Linked DNA regions of Homo sapiens: region 2 is linked to region 1. Evidence: promoter capture Hi-C in 16 types of primary human blood cells and fetal thymus (Javierre and others, 2016). All regions are on one chromosome and are shown on one strand. The core of a region is centred on a gene start or on the middle of the fragment in contact, and the rest is flanking DNA. Distances in the headings are between cores, read along the strand shown.

Evidence for each region. Contacts are between HindIII fragments. The CHiCAGO score rates a contact against its expected background, and 5 or more counts as called.
Region 2: a fragment that was not itself captured here is called in contact with the fragment with the promoter of PARP4 in region 1 in 1 of 17 cell types (non-activated CD4 T cells); the score reaches 6.0 in non-activated CD4 T cells.

What each region holds. Positions count from the first base shown.
Region 1 is chr13:24,511,443-24,514,949 of GRCh38, reverse strand. PARP4 (poly(ADP-ribose) polymerase family member 4) reads left to right here and starts at 2,172. Exons shown (of 34, transcript NM_006437.4): 1 at 2,172-2,244. The region is part of intron 1 of LOC105370117 (a long non-coding RNA gene); the gene reads right to left. RefSeq lists a silencer at 2,015-2,174. The HindIII fragment of the contact is 3,630 bases long and covers 1-3,194 here.
Region 2 is chr13:23,364,730-23,368,298 of GRCh38, reverse strand. It overlaps SACS (sacsin molecular chaperone), which reads left to right. Exons shown (of 10, transcript NM_014363.6): 6 at 3,022-3,133. Among named protein-coding and RNA genes, the nearest start is that of SACS-AS1, 52 kb to the left of the region's middle. The HindIII fragment of the contact is 922 bases long and covers 1,558-2,479 here.

The DNA.
Region 1 (3,507 bases), core at 923-3,422:
ATATTGCTCTGTCACCCAGGCTGGAGTGCAGGAGTGTGATCTTAGCTCACTGCAGCCATGAACTTCTTGGCTCAAGTGATCCTCCTGCCTTAGCCTCCTGAGTAGCTAGGGCCACAGGCATGCACCACCATGCCCGGTTAATTTTGTAATTTTTTTGTAGAGAGGGGATCTCCCTATGTTGCCAAGGCAAACTCTTGGTCTCAAGCGATCCTCCCGCCTTGGCCTCCCAAGACACTAGGATTACAGGCATGAACCACCATGCCTGGTCCTATTGTACTTTTTAACTACACAATTTCTTTTTGGTTCTTTTCAGTTCCAAAATGTGTTTGGTTCCTTTTATAATTTCTATCTCTTTATTAATATTCCTTATTTGTTTTTTAAATAATTTCAACTTTTATTTTAGATTCAGAGGGTACATGTGCAGGCTTGTTACCTACATATAATTCGTGGTGCTGAGGTTTGGGGTATGACTGAGCCCCTCACCCGGGGACTGAGCATAGTACCCAATAGTTTTTCAACCCTTGCCCCTCCCCCTCCCTCCCTGTCTAGTTGTCCCCAGTGTCTATTGTTGCCATCTTTATATCCATGAGTACCCAGTGTTTAGCTCCCACTTACAAATTAGAACATGTGGTATTTGGTTTTCTGTTCCTTCATTAATTCACTTACGACAATGGCCTCCAGTTGCAGTCACGTTGCTGTGAAGGACATGATTCCATTCATTCTTTTTATGGCTTCGTAGTATTCCATGGTGCAAATGTACCACATTTTCTTTATCCAGTCCATTGTCGATGAGCACCTAAGTTCATTCCATGTCTTTCCTATTGTGAAGCGTGCTGTGACGAACATACTAGTGCATGTGTCTTTTTGGTAGAATGAGTTCTCTTGTTTTGAATATGTACCCAGTAATGGGATAGCTGGGTTGAATAGCAGTTCTGTTTTCAGCACTTTGAGAAATCTTCAAACTGGTTTCCACAGTGGTTCAACTAATTTACATTCCCACTGACAGTGTATAAGCATTTCCTTTTCAATAAAGCCTTGCCAGCATCTGTTGTTCCTTGACTTTTTAATAATAACCATTCTGACTGGTGTAAGATGGTATCTCATTGCAGTTTTAATTTGCACTTTTCTGATAATTAGTTATGCTGGGCTTTTTTTCATGCTTGTTGACCATTTGCACATCTTCTATTGCATATTCTCTATTTATTGAGACTTTGTTCTCCTGGTTGTTTCTTTCAGTTATTTTTCTATGTTTCCTTTCACTTTTTGTCCATGTTTAAGACAGTTTATTTGAAGTATTTGTCTAATAATTCCTATGTCTGTGCTTCCTCAGCTCAGGGACAATTTCTGTTCATTTCTTTTTTCCTTTGAATTGGCCATTTTTTCGCCTTTTTTTTTGCATGCCTCATAATTTTTTGTTGAAGATTGGACATTTTGAGCATTACGATGTGGTAACTCTAGGAATCAGTCTCTCTCCTCCCCCAGAATCTCTTGTTGTTTCTTAGACAACCCTATAGAGTAGGTTGTAATGATGAAACTTGGTAAATTACCTTGTCCCCAGCCCCCTTGGTAATAAATTGTGGAGTCAGGATTCAACCCCATACCCTTTCCACTGTATTCTCTACTCTATCCTTTCTATTCTCATTTTATTCAGTATCCTAAAAATCTGAATCTTCCCCATTGCTTTATTCCCATTTCAGTGAATCTCAGATCTGTATCTCCAGCCCCCTGCCTCTCTTGAATGGCAGATAAATATATTTCCAACTAGTTACACTGTCACGAATTTCAAACGCAGGAAGGCTTAAAGTAAATTTATTATCTCACTCTCCTGTTTCCACGAACTTTCCCGAAATTTTCTTCTTTCCCGGCCTTGTGAATCCCTTCCATTTCTCAGTTAAAGGACAGCACCATCCACCCACCTCTCTCAAAGCCGAGCTTTGTATTAATCCTCATTGACAAAATCCCTCCTGAAATATGAAACTGAAAGCCCTGAACCCTCCGGCTGATCTTGGAAGAGAAACCCCGCCAGAGGCCGGGGACCCGCTCCCCACCTGGCGGACCCGATTCCGGGCGCGTTCCGGCTATCGTCCCTGCTTGGGACGCTGCGCCCGCCTGGTGCGGGGCGGGGTTCCGGCGCAGTGGCGCCCGCCCAGCCCCGGGGGCAGGGAGAGCCTAGATTACGGAAGTACCGCGAGCAAGGAGCGCGGAATCGGGGAGCGTCCGGAGCTAGCTGGATCCTCTAGGCAGGTGCGTGGGCGCTGCGGGGTGGGGGGCTGCAAAGGTCCCTGTAGTCCTAGCCAGGAAGTGGCCCGCGTACTACTTTCCCGCCAGTGGCTGCACCCTTGCCCTGCGCGGCGTTGGCGCTGTGGGCCTGACGGCGCTGCTAGGCTCGGGAGTGGACTAGCTAGTGCAGCCAGCGCCCTCGGGGAGGGATATTGCGGTCGTTCCGCTCTGCCCCGCGGCGCAGCCCTGGTGACGAGAAACCGGGTGCGGTGGGGGGCGCCCACCGGAGCCGACAGTCACACCAAGTCTCCGCACCCCGTGCGGTGCGGTTCGCAGTAGCACGCGTTGTTTCTTGTTTCCAGTATGCCAAACGGCCTTCTTTCCTAAAGTTAGGTTTCGAATTGTGCAAAAAGTAAGGTGGTTTGGTGAGTAATCAGGAAGTACTATCTGACCTCGTGAGTCATTGGGAACACCGTGATAGAAACAATGTGTTTGTTGAGGTCCAAAGTTGAAAACCTCTAACTCAGTTAAGTAATTCCTGCTAGGAGGGCCGAATGGTTCACCCAGGGATCGAGTTGGTAGATCACAGGTTCTAGAAAACTAAGGCGCTGCTAAATATTCAAGCCCAAGCACTTTCAATTCTGGACTGCTGGATGACAACAATTATATGACAATATCCAAGCATAGTGCTATGATAAAGGGGAAGTTCGCTCTGAGATGTGCGTGTTGCAGACTCATTACATCTGACTTTATCATTTATTAAGTAAACATTAGGTCTTGTTTGTGTGCGTAGAGCTACTGTATATCATGTAGGAGTGAAATAAAAGTAGTACCTTTGTTGTTTAAGGGTTTAATAAACCCATTAGGGAGGTGCATTACTGATGCCATTTGAGTCCAAAATGCAAATAGTGTCAGAAGGCTTTTCTGTAATCCTGGGCTTTAATGGATACGTGAGAGTTTTTAGTAAGCAAGCTTTTATTGAATGCCCACTGTATATCAAAAGTGATCTTAGCGTGTGCTGACTCACACACTTCGGAAGGCGGAGGCTGTAGAATCAAGACTGCCCAGAAAGGGACTCCTCAGGGTTTTCCGAGAGGAGGAAATGCCAGTGGTAAAGACGAAGACCTGTGAAGCAGGAAGCCACTTGATTCCACCTACACCAATGGTTTATGGAGCAGCCAAGAGTTTGTGAGGAGGCGCGCTGAGGGTTTCTTAGGAATCGGGGCTGTTCCCTGCTGTCTTTGGGTGGAAGACACTCTGTGAATGTTATTTGGGGAAGAAGCTGGG
Region 2 (3,569 bases), core at 769-3,268, 1.1 Mb after region 1:
TAGATTCAAATAGCTGTATTATACCTCTGTGGCTGCAGTGTATAGCAGTGTATAGCTCCATTTGAGAATGGAATTGATATAAATATGTGAGGTTTTCTGGGGCAAAGAAATGCGCTAAGCTACTGGGTGCTGTAATCAGCAGTGTCGCTCCGGGAATGTTCTCTGTAGATCATTGTGCAGGGCTTTACACGTCAACCAACCAACCAACCAACCAACCAACCAGCCAGCCAGCCAACCGGCCAGCCAAATACATTCTACGATTAGAGGCTTGAATGCATGCCCATTGGACTCCTGATTTTAGAGGTTTGCTATTTTGGGAGGGTTTATTTAATAGGATAATTATTTTATTTACTTATTTCTTTTTGTAATATGTTTTTTTAGTTTGATTATACTCTTTAAAAAACAGGCTGGGCGCAGTGGCTCATGCCTGTAATCCCAGCACTTTGGGAGGCTGAGGCGGGTGGATCACCTCAAGTCAGGAGTTCGAGACCAGCCTGGCCAACTTGGCGAAACCCCGTCTCTATTAAAAGTACAAAAATTAGCCAGGCATGGTGGTGGCTGCCTGTAATCCTAGCTACTCAGGAGGCTGAGGCAGGAGAATCGCTTGAACCCGGAGGCAGAGATTGCAGTGAGCCGAGATTGCGCCACTGCACTCCAGCCTGGGCAGCAGGAGCCACACTCCGTCTCAAAAAACAAACAAACAATAAAACAACAAAAAAAGAAAAACCAATAATCATCAAAGAAAGCAATAATGGGAGATACTGCAAAAATTAGATTTTGTGTTTAATAAGAAACTTCCTTAATTGTCAAAGTAGACCAGTTGTTATGCATTTTCCTTCCCATTAGCTTGTTTAGTGTTTATTACCTTCAGTATCTTGGCCCTGGTTATATTTTCTAGTTTAGATTGTAAACTGTGAGGGAATCAGGACTAGGTCTCTTTAATTTAAGAGAGTCATGCTCAGGTAGGCACTCACTGAGGACTGTTGTGTCTTTAGTGATCATGGTGAGACTGGGCTGTTGGAGCAGTCCATCTTTCAGCATAGGCACCAGTGGTTCACAGAAAGCGAATTCAAAAACAGTTTTTGTATTGACTTATTAGGAAAGTGAGGATGGAAAGAGTATTGCTACGAGGTGGTTTTGGGGTAGAAAGAAGTGAATAGAATACATTTAAAATAAAGGTATAGTGGTAACAGGAGTAGGTTGTCATCTGTTTAGAAGTGAGCGAGTGGGATCCTTGCTGAGAAATGAGAAAGGTCTATGGCAAACAGCTGAGGGCTACGCGCCTTCTGCTTTGCTTATAGATATATTTGTATTGTAGCCAGTTCAATGTAATCTTTGTTCCTTGGATGTTGTGGTAGAATTAGACTGTTTTAGATTTAATAGGAGTCTTAGAAATCACCAAGACCTACACCACCACCTTCTATGGTATTTGTGTTTGCTGAAACAGGTCCAGAGATCTTAGTGGCTTGCCCAAGACCAAATACAAAATGTATTGTTGCTGTTTCCCAGAGTTAGTTTACAAACAATCTCTCAGGATTGCAATTTAGGGGAAAAGCTTCCTATCCTATTTTTTATTCAACTTGAGAATGAGTGGAACCTGGGACTTAGATTTTATCTTTAGTTTTCTGCCTCTCTGCTCCCTAAAGTACACATAAATAATAAATAGATACCTGAATGAAAACAAGGTCGAACATCTAAAGTGCTATCATTTTGTAAGTTAACATTGTTTTTCACTACCTATTTAATTCTTATTTCCATCCTTCATATTATTATAATATCCTAATGTAAATAAGATTGTTAATTTTTAGGGATTCTCTGGGATTGAATGAGGCCTAAAAAATTAAAATCCCATGAGAAATAGTTAGTTACGTAACAAGGAAGAATCACTAGCTGATAATGAGGCTGCAGGAGGCACGACTTAGCTGTTCATGTTTGGGGTGGAACAGCTGGTGGGTACCACACTCCAGCCCTTTGGGATGCACTGGGTGAACTGAGCACAATCTCAGAACTGACTTTTCACTTCTGCTCCCTCAGTCTCCTTGTAGTTATTTTGTTTCATGTAGTCATCGTACCACCTCTCTACTCTGATGTAGGCATCACTGTTGACATTGTTGTAGTATCAGTTAAAGTGCTCTTCAATTTTTGCCCATCTGTACCTCCAATTTAGTGATCCCAAGGCTCTGGGGAAGTAAAAAAGCTCTTTTGATGATCATGGGGTTGGATCTAGGAGCTGATTCTTGATTCAGATTCTGGAGCTCCCTTCAAACTGAACGGAGCCCAGCGTGATTTTAGTAGGTGTGCAGAAGTGATTGGGGTTGTTAGGATTGGAAATTTTGTTGAGGCAAATCTTGCAGTTTGCCCTTTCCTTTCTACATTACGGGGAGCTGGTCACCCTTCCACTCACCCACCATTCACCAAACAAATGGTAGTGCTTTCTTCTTGATGAAAGGAATGAGTCAGTCCTGACCATCTGGAAGCTTTCAGTTTAGTGCAGGACAAAGACATTTTTATATCTCAGGCTCTCAAGAAAGCAGCCAATTGAAGGGTATATATAGATTGCTACTATTTGGTTTTATTGTTTTTCTGTGGAAAGGTAAGTTTAGTAAGCAAAGGATAAAAAAGGTCTATTTTTGGCAATCACTCAAGCTTAAGTTACCTGCCACACAGGACGATATGTGCAGCTTTTGGAAATAGAATAATTTCCTTTGAACAAAAGCTTTGGGTAGATTGTAAATATGAGACAGTTATAAATAGGGCCCAGGATTAATTTGCTAAGTGATAGCAAATTAAAAGACAAAATTTAAGTGCAAATAATTGGAGAAGGACTTTTCAACCATACTGTCACATCTATGTAACAATTACTTTCAGTAGTAGCCTCACCAGATCTTAAAGGTAATGTTGCAAATAGTGGGTTTCCTTTATTTAAGTATATTAACTTCTTAAATATTATAGATAAATACAAAGATGAGCAGTAGATTACTGTGTTATTAATTACTATTTTTTGGTATATTTTTTGGTTAGGAATTAATTCAGAATGCAGAAGATGCTGGGGCGACAGAAGTTAAATTTTTATATGATGAAACTCAATACGGAACAGAGACTCTTTGGTCAAAAGATATGGCGCCATATCAGGGTAAGAATCAATAATTAGGAACAAATTTTATTGTATGCACTAACAGGCAGTTTTTAATGATTAATAATGCTTTGTTTAATGAACAGTCTATCATTTGTACTTTTTGGCATGTTTATGTCCACTTCTTCAGATGTTTTTCTCTGCTTTTGGTGGGAAGGTGTCTCCACCAGTTGGTATTTTTAGAGAACAAAGAATAAAATCTGAAAACTCAAAATGACAAGCAATGTAATGACCAAAGCCTCTTATTCTATTCAAACAACTTGTATTTTATATTATCAGTAGGATAAAGGGACACCATTTATGTATAGTAACACTTTCCTGCATTTGGAAAGATGTTGTGAAAGGCCATGCTTTTGTGTATTTTCCGCTTTAGGAGTACCCTCGACATTGTTTGGAAGTTGGGTGGGAAGAAAGATTGAAGGAGAGGAGAGAACAA